5 separate regions of the Homo sapiens genome follow, and all the other regions are linked to region 1. Evidence: promoter capture Hi-C in 16 types of primary human blood cells and fetal thymus (Javierre and others, 2016). All regions are on one chromosome and are shown on one strand. The core of a region is centred on a gene start or on the middle of the fragment in contact, and the rest is flanking DNA. Distances in the headings are between cores, read along the strand shown.

What was found. The method cuts DNA at HindIII sites, captures the fragments that hold promoters and counts their contacts. A CHiCAGO score of 5 or more calls a contact.
Region 2: the fragment with the promoter of ACSM1 here is called in contact with a fragment that was not itself captured in region 1 in 2 of 17 cell types (fetal thymus and total B cells); the score reaches 9.3 in fetal thymus.
Region 3: a contact is called between the fragment with the promoter of DCUN1D3 here and a fragment that was not itself captured in region 1, in 2 of 17 cell types (naive B cells and M1 macrophages). The highest score is 6.7, in naive B cells.
Region 4: a contact is called between the fragment with the promoter of ZP2 here and a fragment that was not itself captured in region 1, in 9 of 17 cell types (naive CD8 T cells, total CD4 T cells, fetal thymus and 6 more). The highest score is 12.1, in naive CD8 T cells.
Region 5: a contact is called between the fragment with the promoter of ANKS4B here and a fragment that was not itself captured in region 1, in 4 of 17 cell types (naive B cells, total CD4 T cells, fetal thymus and 1 more). The highest score is 9.7, in naive B cells.

What each region holds. Positions count from the first base shown.
Region 1 is chr16:22,663,420-22,666,324 of GRCh38, forward strand. No RefSeq gene overlaps it. Among named protein-coding and RNA genes, the nearest start is that of LINC02890, 51 kb to the left of the region's middle. RefSeq lists an enhancer at 1,259-1,418. The HindIII fragment of the contact is 386 bases long and covers 1,332-1,717 here.
Region 2 is chr16:20,696,246-20,699,150 of GRCh38, forward strand. It overlaps ACSM1 (acyl-CoA synthetase medium chain family member 1), which reads right to left and starts at 1,435. Exons shown (of 14, transcript NM_001318890.3): 1 at 1,391-1,435. It also overlaps a transcript of ACSM3 not described here. The HindIII fragment of the contact is 2,330 bases long and covers 526-2,855 here.
Region 3 is chr16:20,898,881-20,901,785 of GRCh38, forward strand. It overlaps DCUN1D3 (defective in cullin neddylation 1 domain containing 3), which reads right to left and starts at 1,478. Exons shown (of 3, transcript NM_173475.4): 1 at 1,324-1,478. It overlaps LYRM1 (LYR motif containing 1), which reads left to right and starts at 1,891. Exons shown (of 4, transcript NM_001128302.3): 1 at 1,891-2,009. RefSeq lists enhancers at 1,038-1,087, 1,297-2,082, 2,083-2,868. The HindIII fragment of the contact is 5,697 bases long and covers 567-2,905 here.
Region 4 is chr16:21,210,209-21,213,113 of GRCh38, forward strand. ZP2 (zona pellucida glycoprotein 2) reads right to left here and starts at 1,366. Exons shown (of 19, transcript NM_001376232.1): 1 at 1,278-1,366; 2 at 1,099-1,187. The coding sequence starts at 1,339. The HindIII fragment of the contact is 1,261 bases long and covers 871-2,131 here.
Region 5 is chr16:21,232,227-21,235,131 of GRCh38, forward strand. It overlaps ANKS4B (ankyrin repeat and sterile alpha motif domain containing 4B), which reads left to right and starts at 1,473. Exons shown (of 2, transcript NM_145865.3): 1 at 1,473-1,675. The coding sequence starts at 1,512. It overlaps LOC105371123 (a long non-coding RNA gene), which reads right to left and starts at 1,376. Exons shown (of 2, transcript XR_001752344.2): 1 at 1,266-1,376. The HindIII fragment of the contact is 3,732 bases long and covers 181-2,905 here.

The DNA of each region.
Region 1 (2,905 bases), core at 275-2,774:
ATCTTAAAGATGATCTTGGCTTACCCCCAAGTCAGTCTTGCTGCTGAGCTCCAATGTCCAGTTTGGTTGGGATCTCAGTGGCACAGACTTCTCATGCTGTCTCAGTGGGGCACTGGGCTAGTCGGGGAGAAGGTTCAAGACTAGAGGGGCTTAGCTTGTTGACATGAATATGCCCTGCCAGTTACAGTGTTACTAGCAGGACTTTATCCTTGTCTGAATCAGCAAATGGCCTGTCTGGTTAGAGTGCTTGCATGCTCTAAAATGTATGATCTTAATCACAGCTCAGTGAGAATATTTGCAGGCAGAAGACTCTCTGTTTTAGGTTGGGCTCCCTGGAAGCAGACGCTGAGACGAGGATTTGTGTAAAAGTGATTTATTATGAGGGGTTCTCAGAAACACTAGTAGGGGAGTGGGAAAATAGAATGGAGAAGAGAAGAAGCCAAGAAGGGTGTTGGATCAAGCAAGGTCCTACAGGAGGACTGCTGTGGCTCAGTCCCCAGGACAGCTCCAGGGAGAGTTCAGGCTGCTCCTTGCAGTTTTCCGATCAAGACAAGAGAGCTGGCGTGATGTTTCAGAGACAGGGGCTTGCTCTGTCACCAAGGTTGGACTGCAATGGTGCGATCATAGGTCACTGCAGCCTCAAACTCCTGAGCTCAAGCAATTCTCTTGCCTCAGCCTCCCAAATAGCTGGGACTATAGGCACTCACCACCATGTCCGGCTATTTTTAATTTTTTTTTTTTGTAGAGATAGGGTCTTGCTGTGTTGCCCAGGCTGGATTTGAACTCCTGGCCTCAAGTGATCCTCCTGCCTTGGCCTCCCAAAGTGTTGAGATTACAGGCATGAGCCATTCCACCCGGCCAGCTGGCATGCTTCTAAGCCTGCCTTCACCACTAATTGGTTAAGGGCTGGCCTCCAAGGGGAGTGCAAATTCCCAGGCACTCCAGTCTCAGCACACACAGGCAAAGTGAGAGCAGCCCTCTGCCAACATGCAGGTGCTGGCTAAGAGAAAGCACACAAGGAGCTGTGTGCAGAGCGTGGTCTGAGTGCGTGTGGGCAGAGGCCCCAAGAGCCCTGCTATGTGCTCTTATTCCAAGTGGATCCATTAGTTTGTTCTGCACACATTCATCCATCTTCAACTCTGTGCCAGGCTCTGGGCATGCAGGCGACAAAGACACAGCCCTAACCCTCATGAAATTTTTACAGCCAAGTAGGGGAGACAGACATTAAGTTTTAAAAATCCTCCCAAAATGAGGAACTGTGATTGTGAGTAGCGCTGTGGATGAGAAGAACACCTGGGAGGAGACCTCGTCTAGCAGGTGGGCGGGGATGAAGCTTCTCCAAACAAGTGACGCTGAGCCAAGAGCTGAAGGATGAGTAAGAGTGAACCAGGCATAAAAGGGAAGAAGGAGCATTACAAGCCTGGGGTGCATGTGCAAGGGTCCTGGGGCAGGAATCCACAGGAGCAAGTGAAAGGCTGGTGTGACTGGGGTCCGAAGACCCAGGGGAGAGCAGTAAGTGATGAGCCTGTGGGTTGCTGAGGAGTGATTATTCCCCACTTACCACCTGGTTCCTTTTCGAGCCTGTTCAATGTCGTTCAGACCCAGATGTGTGAGCCATTCTCTGGTACGTTCCCTGGAAGCAGAGGGGAAATGGGGACATAGCGAGGATGTTAGGGTGGAAGAGACTATTTTCAATGGTTCATCTTTTCCCCACTGAAGCTTATAGCTGAAATTAATACATAAATTTACAGCCACAAGTCAGTTGTGATAAATAATCCCAGAAGTGTTCCGATTATTTACATTTTTATGGAATCTTGCCTGAGCAAACCCAGAGAGCACACCAGGCACTTGAAGAATTATGTCTTGTTCAAAACCAATTTAATAGCAATGGAAAATAAAGCCATCTGTGGGAACTTGTAGAGCAGAGTAGTAATTCTCTGCCAGATGAGCAATATACAAAAAGCACCAAATCAACCCGAGCACACCAAGCGTTTGCACAGTTCAAGGGAAAGTAACAACTGCAACTTCAATGAACCGTCGGAAGACATCAGGCCTCAGAGTGTCTTTTGCTTGTGTTTTCAGCAGATGTCAGACAGATGAGGATTCTGCTCACGTAGCAATGTGAGAAGAGTCCCTCATGGTCTCCCTACATACAGTGGGGCTGACTGGTGAGAGGCTGTGCAAAAGGGAAGAAAGATCACATGGCGGAGGGGTTAAGAGCATGCGTTTGGGGCCAAAGAGTTGGGAGTTTGCATCTGGGCTCCCCCACTTACTAGCTGGGTGACATAGGGCAAGTCATTGTTTCTTATTTTCCTAATGTGTAAAAATGGGTAATATATGTGAGTGTTTTTCTCTCCCAGTCCAGCATCCTTTCCCCCTGTGTTAGTCTGCTTTGCATTGCTGTAAAGAAATGCCTAAGTCTGGGGTCTGGGTAATTTATAAGGAAAAGGGGTTTATTTTGGCTCACAGTTTTGCAGGCTGTACAGGAAGCATGGTGCTGTCTTGGAGCTCAGGAAGCTTCCAATCATGGCGAAAGGCGAAGGGGGAGCCCATGTGTCACATGGCAAGAGAGGGAGCAAGAGAGAGAGGGGGAGGTGCCAGACTCTTTTAAACAACCAGATCTCATGTGAACTAAGAGCAAGAACTCACTTATTACTGCAAGGCGGGCACCAAGCCATTCATCAGGGATCCACCCCCATGACCCAAACACATCGCACCAGGTCCCACTCCAACACTGGGGATCACATTTCAACATGAGACTTGGAGGGGACAAATATCCAAACCATATAATCCCCAATCTAACAGCATCATGGTTTCCTCTTTTCTCTTGCTTATTTTTTCATGGTTTATTATTTATTTTTTAACAGCTTTATTGAGGTATAATTTACATACATTAAAATTCACC
Region 2 (2,905 bases), core at 185-2,684, 2.0 Mb before region 1:
TGCATGTCTCTATCTCTATCACTATCTCTGTCTCTATCTCTATCTCCGTCTCTGTCTCTGTTTCGATATCTATTTCCATCCACATCTGTCTTCAGATTTGACTTCACAAAGCTTAGTTTGTCTATTTCTCACCGTGCTGGACATAGTAAGTGCTCAACAAAAAGTTAGATTCTTCCCTTCTTTGTCATAATTCAGAAAACTGAGTGATGAAAGTCAGAAAGAGAAAAGCCAGTGTGCCCACAAATTATCTGAGTTATAGAAAAATGTATTTTTTCTTTCTCAAGTATTTACTATAGATGTACCATGTACAGTTTTAGATACTATTGGAGATTAATTAAACTGAAAGAGTTCCTACCCTGTTAGAGCATATCATTAAAGCACATCCTATGAAATCATTTTAAAGAACAATTTTCTGAACTGCTTAAAGTGCATTCTGAAAGCAATTTGACATGGTAGCTTTGAGAGGCAGCTGGGCTCCCCACTGTATTCCCAGATACATAGTGCCTTGAACAGCTCCTGCAACTAAGCTTTGACTTCACAGGACTTGGGACTGATAAAGCTATTTAATGAAGCAACATACTTACTGTGTTATAGGGTATCCCAGAGTTACAGAGCCAGGGCTAGATGTTTGTCTCTGTTGTCTAGCAGCTGGGTCTTTGGTGCTGTTCATGTCTCTGAACTTAAGCGCACAGTAGTAATACCTTCTTCCCAGCTCCCCATAAGGATTAGTGTGATAATTTACTTGCTGGCACTGAATGAAGTGCACGGTAAGGACTCAATAAATGTTGAGGTACCTTTTAACTCCCAGCAAATTCTGAAGCCAACCCCCTCCCCATTAGATGTTAACCATTTTTTTTGAAACTGTCACCTGGACTGGAGTGCAGTGGTGTGATCATAGCTCACTGCAGCCTCAATCTCCTGGGCTACAGTCATCCTCCTGCCTCAGCCTTTCAAGTACCTGGGACCACAGGCATGTATTACTATGCTTGGATAATTTTTTTTAGAAGGCATTCACTTTATAGAAAGTGAGCCAACTTCTGCATAGATAGAAAAGATTTCCTTCAAACATTCATCTCTGACTTTGTGCCTGTCTCCCACGGCTCACCACATTCAGAGCTGCCTGACACTAAACCAGTCCCCATTTACATGCCAGCCACTGTGCTAAACATATTACATGTACGTTCCTATTTATTCCTCTCACCCAATATCACCATTGTCATTTTGCCTCTAAAATGAAGTGCCAAGAAGTTAAGTGACTTGCCCAAGGTCACTCAACTTAAAAGTAGCATTGCCAGAACTTAAAATTGGATTACACACACACACACACACACACACACACACACACACACACACACACACAGATAGAAGCTGACCTTCACCTCTGTCTTACCTGGTACTGTTTAGGACGTAGCTGAACTAGGTCCCTGGTAGGTATGGAAAAGGAGGTTGAGCTCTCTTTTGTAGGTTCAGTTCTCTCTGATCAGGTGATCCGCAGGATTGTGCACCCAGCAGAACTTGGCTTCTGGCCACAGCGAAGGGGGACCTTGAACAGAGAACTTGTTAGGAATTGGGTAATTCAGTAGGGGGAGGAGATGCTCAGGTAAAATAGGACAGAAACAATTACAGGCCTCCACGGAGAGATAATCACTTAGAAAACAAACCATGTGGGCCGGGCGCAGTGGCTCGCGCCTGTAATCCCAGCACATTGGGAGGCCGAGGCGGGCGGATCACGAGGTCAGGAGATGGAGACCATCCTGGCTAACACGGTGAAACCCCGTCTCTACTAAAAATACAAAAAATTAGCCGGGTGTGGTGGTGGGCGCCTGTAGTCCCAGCTACTCGGGAGGCTGAGGCAGGAGAATGGCGTGAACACGGGAGGCGGAGCTTGCAGTGAGCCGAGATCATGCCACTGCACTCCAGCCTGGGAGACAGAGACTCTGTCTCAAAAAAAAAAAAAAAAAGAAAAACAAACCACGTATACGAAGTCACCTCCAATTCCGGTGGCATGGCTAGGGGTGTGAATGAACTAGATCCAATGGTGCATTTTCACTAGTTCTCTGTGGCTAACCTGCTCCCCCTTCCCAGCCCTACATCACCATAGTCTCCCTTAAATGACAGCTGAGAGTCAGTGTAGCCTAATGGATAAGAGCCTGGGCTCTGGAGGTCTGGAGGCAGAAAGGTCTGAGTTTGAGCCTTAGGTCTGCCACTTAACCTCCATGTCATCTTTGTGGACCTTCTTGCTCTGGGCCTCACCTCCCTTAATTGGTTTTCGGTTGCTTTTGAGACAGAATCTCATGCTGTCACCCAGGCTGGAATGCAATGGCATGGTCTTGGCTCACTGCAACCTCCGCCTCCCAGGTTTAATTGAGTCTCTTGCCTCAGCCTCCCAAGTAGCTGGGATTATAGGTGCCCGCCACCACACCCAGTTAATTTTTGTATTTTTAATAGAGACAGGGTTTCATCATGTTGGCCAGGGTGGTCTTGAGCTCTTGACCTCAGGTGATCTGCCCGCCTCAGCCTCCTAAAGTGCTGGGATTACAGGCATGAGCCACAGCACCCAACACCTACCTTATTTGTAAAATAGGAATGATAACAACAATACCTACCTCCCAGGGTGTTTTCTTTGCTTCTTCATTTGTTTGTTAGAACTAGATGAAATAATTTATAAAAAGCATGTAGCACACGGTGCTGGGCATAGTCGATGTTGGCTCTTTTTATTCACTTGGGATTCTCAGAGGAACAATTTGGTATCCTGGTAAAATGCAGGGTCTTTGGAATCCCAAAGTCTTGAGCTTAATTAAGTCCAACCTCAGGCACTCACAAGAAAGCTCTTGGGTGAACCATTTTCCTTTCAAAGCTTGGTCTTGACATTTGTAAAATGAAGCAGGATTTGTTAATAAGATTT
Region 3 (2,905 bases), core at 228-2,727, 1.8 Mb before region 1:
GAGTGCTCCTTGATTTTTTTTAAACCAACAGCATATCAACAAAGAGGCCTTCTTTCCATTCTTTGCTTCAAATAATTTTTTCACATCCGTTATTGGTTTGTATTCGCCCTTAAACCAAAACTAAACAGATCACACTGTCTCATTTAGGACCCCCATACACAAAGAATCAGCTACGTAAAGATGAAAATCAGCACAAGCTGAACGTGTCACTGATGATTTGTGTGTCACACATAAATGGAGAAAAACATAAAAGAGCTATTGTCCAATTGTAGAAACAAAAAAGTAATATGGGGTTTTCTGTTCTCTGAAGTGCATCATGAAAAGTGGGTGGAGAGAAACACAGAAATCCAGAATTAGCCTAGCAAATCATTTTGGGAAGAGCTGACAACATGTAAATTCCTCACACATAAAGTATTTCGAGCAAGAGACCTTGATTCCTGGGCTATGATGCCATTCAGGATTCCTTGCAAAGGCTCTGGAATTCCAGTATTCATAAAAGAAAATGCTCATTATAATCGGAGCGTAAGAGGTACTCCCAACGTGACAGCCTGTATGAAGTATTACAAAGCTTACAGTTAAGATCTGGGATAGAGGCTGAACACCAAATTCAAAAGAGGTAACCAAGGCACTAAGTGCCATAAAGGAGGAAAGGGGAAGAAAAAAAAATCCACTATTGCCACTCAGCCACAGAGAATTAAAGTGGAAACCAGGGGTGTGCATGGGGGAGGATGAGGGGTGAGAAGTGCGGGGGGTGTGGTGGAGGAACAAACAATACATTTGTCACCCCGTCCCACTTCCTATAGAGGATACAGGCAAAGCCTCCAGCCTCATTACCTCGGACACAGATGGTTATCGTTTATAGCAAAGGTGCACAAAAAGGCCTTCAGGTCTGAGCCCCTTAATTCCAGGGCTGTTAATGATTAAAGAGAACGATGGGGGTGGGGAGGGAAATGAGGGCGGAGGGAGCTGGGAGATTCACCCACCACCTCCCCCTAGGGCTCCTACCTCACAGCGCTCACCCAGGACAGAGGACCAGAGTCTGCACCCCCTCCAGGGCAGCTCCAACCCCATATCCCCAGGCCCTGGGTTGAGGGGTGCTGGCGGTGGGGAGGCAGGGACAGTAGGTAAGTTTTCTGAGCCCTGCGGCTGACACGCCACAGGCTCCCCTCACAGCCTCTTCTTTCAGAGGTACCACTCCAGACAACGCGCTGACTTCCACTCCTCCCTTTCCACCCCCCTTTCTCGAAGGTACCCAACCCCCGCCCCTTCATCTCTCAATGCCCCCCCGCCTTTTCCTCAACTCCCCCCCTCCCCAAAACTCACAGCTGCTCCAGAGGTTCCTCCAGTCAAACCCTTTCTGGAAACGACGGCGGCCCGGCGGGTCCAAACCACCTACCATCCCCGCTCGCGTTTCCAGGCTCCCTACCCCCGCCGCCGCCGCCTCTTCTTCCACCACTGCCACCGCCTCCTCTTCATCTGCGGCCCACCGGCGGCGGCCGCCCCGAAGCCCCGCCCCCTCCATCGCCTCCTGCATCATCACTTCCGGTAACCCCGCCGGCCGCCAGCTCCAGGAGGGAGAATGGGAGAGGGGCAAGGAGGGAACGAGTGGAAGATTGCGTCACGACGCACATAAAGACGTACGAAGCCGTCGCCAAGTAAGGGCAAAGACCTAGCAACCCGGAGGGAGCTGGGCTGGACCATTTTTTTTTCTTGTTTTACGGGAATGGAGCGGGGAGGATAATGAAAGCGTAAAGGAAAAATAGGGGGAGGAGGAGCTCAGCTTATTGTTGGATGCGGCGGGAGATGGGTAGAGTCAGTCAGTCGAGACTCCCCCAGACCTGGAACTGGTGCTCCCACAGAGGTGGGCCCGGTGGTTTGGTCCGGCCTGGCCTACTGGACCAGCCTGTGCTCGGTCGGCCACGGCTCTGCTGGGCTCCTGGCGCCGCCTCCTCCCAGCCCGCCGCGGGCTGCGCGCTTCTGTGGGTGGGGGAAGGCAGGACTGACGCAGAGTGAGTGTAGGGGATGGAGGCGCCGACTCCAGGCGCGGGAGACTGGCGGGGAAGGGGTTGGCTCCCCACGGGCAGGGATGGTTTGGAGGTTGGGCTGCGGCGTTGCCGGGAGACGGGCCTGTGTGACCCCAGCTTCGCGGGGGCGGCTCGGTGTCATCGCCACCGGCCTCGGGGACCTGCCTCACGGAAGTGGCTCGCGCGTCCAAGAGGGGAGGCCTGGTGTGGGGACGCTCAGGTGCCGGCGTGGGGCCCCCTCGGAGGCTGTGAATCTTTTGGACCCCCGAATGTAAATGGGAGATGGTAGGGGCCGGTCCGGGGGCGAGAGGTGTCTGGCTGGGGAACGTTGACCCACACCAGGTCCCGTACAGGAACGGAGACTCCCTAGGACCGTGAGAGCCAGCTTCGTAATTCTCTTGCTCTTCAAACCTGAGAGTAGGGTGTTGCTCCGTTACCTTCCATTCGTGTGCAGGAGAGAGTTAAGTAAATCAATAAAGAAGGTATCAGCAAGTGAGAAATGCCCCCCAAAGACCGGATGAGGTGACAGAAGATGGGGGGAGGGCCCCTCGAAATCGGGTAAGGTCGTTCAAAGGAGGCCACGGTTTTGCGGGGATCCGAGACAATGGGTTTTCTGGGTGGAGAGAAGAGCCAATGAGAAGGACTTTTAGGTTGGAAACAGCCAGAAGGCCATGTGGCTGAAGCAAACAGAGCCAGGGCCGGAGTGCCCTGTGATGTAGTTGGGGAAGTGGCATGACTGTAGCAGCGCCTTTTAGCCCAAGGCAGGGGTTTGGCTAATGTGTACCTTAAGGGTTTTAAGAAGGGAAGTGACCTGACCTGATTTACATTTTTAAAAATCCGCTCTGCCTGCTGGATAGAGAAGGGTGGAAGTAGTTAGACCT
Region 4 (2,905 bases), core at 116-2,615, 1.5 Mb before region 1:
GCATTTGGGGGCTTTGAGTCATGAGTGATGCAACTCCTACAAAAGTGTATAGACTCCTCTCAGATGGGAGGGATTCCAGATGAGGGAGGCAAGAATCGTCCCCTACCCTGGGAGAGCTCACAAACAAGTGACCAAGACAACAATACAATATGCCAAGAACTGTAAGGAAAATATCAGGTACCCAGGGCTTTTGAAGTGTTCCAGTAAGAAGCCCAGGTTAGGGTTGACAAGCAGGTCTGTAGGAGCCAGGTCAACACCTTGACAGTGGAGCAGATGGAGGCAGGCCCGAAAAACTGACAAAAGCTTTGTCAACAGGTTTTGCAAATTGATGTTAAACAAAGTCCTGGGTAAGTCCCAGGACTTTTATTTATTTATTTATTTATTTTGAGACGGAGTCTCTCTGTCACCCAGGCTGGAGTGCAGTGGCACGATCTCAACCCACCTCAACCTCCGCCTCCCAGGTTCAAGCGATTCTCCTGCCTCAGCCTCCCAAGTAGCTGGGATTACATGTGCCCACCACCACACCCAGCTAGTTTTTGTATTTTTGGTAGAGATGGGGTTTCACCACATTGGCCAGGCTGGTCTCAAACTCCTGAGCTCAGGTGATCTGCCCGCCTTGGCTTCCCAAAGTTCTGGGATTACAGGCGTGAGCCCCGGCGCCTGGCTGCATTTTTTTTTTTTTTTTTAAAGATCAAGTTTTGCCCATCATCTGCTACTCTGCAGCCTCTGGCTCAGGTGAACGTCAAGTGAGCAGCTCCAGTTTTGCTTGTTATGTCGATGTTTTCCTTAAGCATGAGTTTGTGTTTGAAGATTGCTGCTCCTAAAGATGAGGGCTTAGTGTGGTGGTTTGCTGTTCTGTGGATACCATAAAGCTTGAGGCAGTGAGGGATTGGAAGGCAGTGCAAGTGTTTGAGTTTTCATTTAGCAGGTATAGTGAGTCTACAGGTTAGCAGAAGAAAGATCCAGTAACCTGACCAAGGTAATAAAGGGGGTGAATGGAGGTTGTCTGAGCCAGGCCTGTGTTTCTTGGCCAGCTAGGCCTTCCAGCTGCAACCTGTTTTCTCTGCTAAGAAGACTTCTGTCACCCAAGAGACATACCTGGAAAGGCAGGATTTACCAACTGAGAAACATCTATGGAGTTCCCTGAAGTCACAAGGGCGAAGAAGAGAGAAATCGACCTGTAGGTGCTGGAAAGAGACAGGGAGATAGTCAAGGAAGAATGGACTTTAACAAACAAAGCTACCATACCCCCTCCCTCCACTTCCAGAATTACTCACCTCCAGCCTGCATTGAACCAGCCTGAGGGACTCCAAGAGCCTCCTCTCTGCCTGCACGCCATAGCAGAAGACACTACCAGATCAACCAGGTAGAGGGTAGGCTGCTCTGTGTTTTTATAGCAGGAAGCCAGCCGCATCCACACCCTCTCCCCATTGGGGGCACCTGAATCTTGTCCCATTCTCCCAGCTGAAACGGAAGGATTGGGGAAGGAAGTGGCCTCTGATTCCTGACAGCTTGCGCCGGGTATTCTGCCAGCTGCCCTGTGGGCCAGGCATGAAATCAGAGTTTGCTGAAATCAGCTCCAGGTGAGTGAATTGGTGTTTTCCCTATAACTATGGGGGAAATTAGGATCTTTTGGGCAAATTATTTACAACTGCAATGTAGAGCCAAAGAGAATCATGGGCTTTATTGAGAAAAAAACAAGTCTTGTTCACACCACTACATTTTTTTTTTTTTTTTGAGATTCAGTTTCACTCTGTCACCCAGGCTGGAGTGCACTGGTGCAATCTCGGCTCACTGCAACCTCTGCCTCCTGGGTTCAAGCAATTCTCCTGCCTCAGCCTCCTGAGTAGCTGGGATTACAGGTGCACGCCACCACACCTGGCTAATTTTTGTATTTTGAGTAAAGATTGGGTTTCACCGTGTTGGTCAGGGTGGTCTCGAACTCCTGACCTAGGTGATCCACGTGCCTCGGCCTCCCAAAGTGCTGGGATTACAGGCGTGAGCCATTGCACCTACCCTAAAACCTTTTAAGTAACATCTAGTCTTCTGGCTACTGCAGAAGTTACCCTGATAATGCACAGGAAGTGTCTTTAAAAAAATGAATGAAGCCTTGTTGACCCCCAAGTGTAAAAGCTTAAGCTTACCGCAAAGATACAATTTCAGAAGGATACAGAGAAAAGGCAAAAGTCACTCATAATAGTGCCACTGCTAATATTTAGGTGAGTAACTTTAGACATGTTTCTACAAACACCACACACAATTTTTTTAAAACACTGGGAGGAAAGTTTAAATACTGTTTTGTAATCTGCTACTGTCACTTTATAACTATTAAACATAAAGCTCTCTGTTACCATTTTAGGGTGGCATAATATTCAATTTGAGATAAATCTGTGTTTATATAATTTCCTTAATTATGAGCATAAGGTGGCTTGTAATTTTTCATCATTATAAGCAGTAACATGATGAGCATTCTGATACATATCCTTGGGTAACCCTCAAGATAAATTCCTCAAAGTAAAACTTCTGGGTAAAAGGGAGTAGTGATCTAATAAGAATGTTATATTGTTGTAAAGCACTTGGAAGTTTCCCAGTGGGGAAACTGAGGCAAGGCAACTTGCCCCAACAATGTCAGGGACCAGGTGGAGAACTCAGATTTCCTGAGGCCTGATGGTTGTGTTTTTTCAACATCTCTCACACTCTTTGAGATAACTAGATGTCTGCAGCCCATGTTCCAAAATAGGTGGATATAAGGCTTAGACTCCATTCAAGTGGTGGGTGACACTTGCAATTATTAGGCTGGTGCAAAAGTGATTGCAGTTTTTGCCGCTACTTTTATGTATGTATGTATGTATTTGAGATGGAGTCTTGCTCTGTTGCCCAGGTGGGAGTGCAGTGGCGCAATCTT
Region 5 (2,905 bases), core at 223-2,722, 1.4 Mb before region 1:
TCCATTTTCTTTTGTTTTTATTACAGATCTGGAAATTTTTTGGTCTTATATTGTACTCCTTATAGTCATTTTTCTATACTTTTTCTCCTTCCCTTGAGTTATTGATAATATGTTTAAGTTATTGATTTGAGATCTTTTTTCTTTCTCATATATGCATAAAAAACTACAAATTTTGCCCTAAGCTTTTCTTTAACTGCATCCTATAAATCTTGATATGTGGTATTTTCATTTTCATTCTGTTCCAAATATGTCTGATATAGGACTTGTATCCAGAGTATATAAATAATTCTTATAATTTATTAATAAGACAACCACTTAAAAATTGGGCAAAAAGATTTGAATAGAAGATGTAAGAATGGCTAATGGGCACATGAAAAGATGCTCAATATCTTAGTCATTAGGAAATTGAAAATTAAAGCCATAATAAGACCACTTCATATCCACTAGGATGACCATAAACAAAAAGATAGGCAATAATAAGGCTGGCAAGGTTGTGGAGAAATTGAAACCCTCATACGTTATTGGTGGAAATGTGAAGTAGTACAGCCACTTTGGAAAACAGTCTGGCAACTTCTGAAATTTAAATGTAAATTGCCATGCAACCCAGCAGTTTCACTCCTTGATATATACGCAAGACACATGAAAATATGTGTCCACACAGAGACTTGTACATCAGTGCTCATAGCAGCATTATTCATCATTACTGAAAAATGGAAACAACCCAAATATTCATCATATTCATGAAACATTGAATGGATGAAGAACATGTGGTATGTTAGCACAGTGGAATATTATTCAGCAGTGAAAAGAAAGAAACCATTACATGCTACACATGACAAACCTCAAAAAAGTATGTGAATTGAAACAAGCTATACACTAAAGACTATATATTGTAGGATTCCATTTGTCTGAAATGCCCGTAAAAAACAAATCTATAGAGACAGAAAGCAGACTGTGGTTTCCTGAGGTTGGGAGTGGAAATGGGATTGACAGCAAATGGCATGAGGGATCTTTAAGGGCTGATGGAAACTGGATTATGATAATGGGCATGCAACTCTATAAATGTCCTAAAAATCATTGAATTGTATGCATGAAATGGGTAAATTTAATGATGTTATACCTCAATAAAGCTGTTCTTTTTGGAAAAAACAGCTAGTGAACTAGAGTAGCTCTGCATTTTATTAAGAAATTATTTCTTACATCCTGTGCCTAGATGGCCAATATTACACTCAAGAAACTAATGGACATAGAAAAATTGAATGTACCTCCAAACACTCAAGATGAATACAGCAGTCTTCAATAGTCAACGTCATGGCCATTCCAGAGAGAAAAGGTCCAAGTTCAGTGCCTCGAACCTTGTTGCCTTCCGTGAAAGGAAGCAGTTGAAATGAGCTTTGCCCCTGGTGACACTCTTCCTTGTCACTAATTAACCAGCTCTATAGGAAGGTTGCTCCGCCAACACCTTGCTCTGCCTGGAGAGACATCTGGCCAAGTTCTGGTGAGCAGGAAAAATGTCTACTCGTTACCACCAAGCTGCTAGTGATAGTTACCTGGAACTTCTAAAAGAGGCTACCAAGCGAGATCTAAATCTTTCGGATGAAGACGGCATGACTCCTACTCTCTTGGCAGCCTACCATGGGAACTTGGAAGCCCTAGAGATAATCTGCAGTAGAGGGTAAGTTCAACCCGATGGTTTCTGTTGGAAACAGTGTTCATGGTAGGTTTTTGCAGACAGCAGCAAGAGGCAGGGACGTCAATACAAATACTTTATCCTCTTTCTAGATTGTCTAAATGATTGGATTTTTAGAGAAAGAGAGAAAACTATGCCTAGAGATGCTCTCTTTTCTCACTGAGGACTGGCACTATAGGAGTGGCTCATCCCTTAGCCACAATCAGAGGAGAGACCCTGAACTACGGCATTATCTGCATGGGGAAGAGGGAAGATATTTTAATTCTATGCCTTTAAAAATGCTTTTCATGAAATTTAAATAGTTTTCTCTTTTCAAAGAGGCCATTGTTTTACTTGGTTTTAAGTTGCCAACCTTGGTTGGAACAAATGACATGGTTTTAGTTTTTTTTTTATCTATGCCATCAAAATCTCACAGTCTTTTATTAACTTTCAATCCCAGTGCAAGCTCATGATTTTTTTATTTTTTATTTTTGACACAGGGTCTTGCTCTTTTGAATGGAGTTGCTGGCTCTACAAGGACTCTTTAGCCTATCTTAACTCTATCACTTCTTTGGCTAGTGGATAGATACACACACACACACACACACACACACACACACACACACCCCATCTCTTTGCCCAGATTTTAATGGAGGAGTAAGCTAGTTCCTCTGCTTGTTCTGCCTGTTATCAGAGGGCTAGGTTGTGTTGGCAACCGTAACCCAAGAGGGGTAAAGAAAGAGAAAAGGACAAGGTAAATAAAGGAGCCAAGTGAATCCAATTGAATACCCATTTATTCAGTATTTGTTATGTGCCAGCCACTTATCTCTTAAGATAAGAGATATTTTGCTAGCCACTGGGCACACTGTGATCAACAAGACAGCCACAGTCCCTGTCATAGTGAGCAGATTTGAGAGGGGAAGACAAGACATCTATGATATTTGTGTGTGTGTGTGTGTGCATGTTTGCTCTGAGACAGGGTCTCACTCTGTCACTCAGGCTGGAGTGCAGTGTCAAGATCATAGCTGACTGCAGCCTTGAGCCCCAGGCTCAAGTGGTCCTCCCATCTGAGCCTCCCGAGTAGCTGGGACAAGAGGTGTGCACCACCATGCCCAGCAATTTTTGTACTTTTTGTAGTGATGGGGTTTTGCCATGTTGCCCAGGATGGTCTTCAACTTATGAGCTCAAGCGATCTGACAGCCTCGGTCTCCCAAAGTGCTGGGATTACAGCTGTGA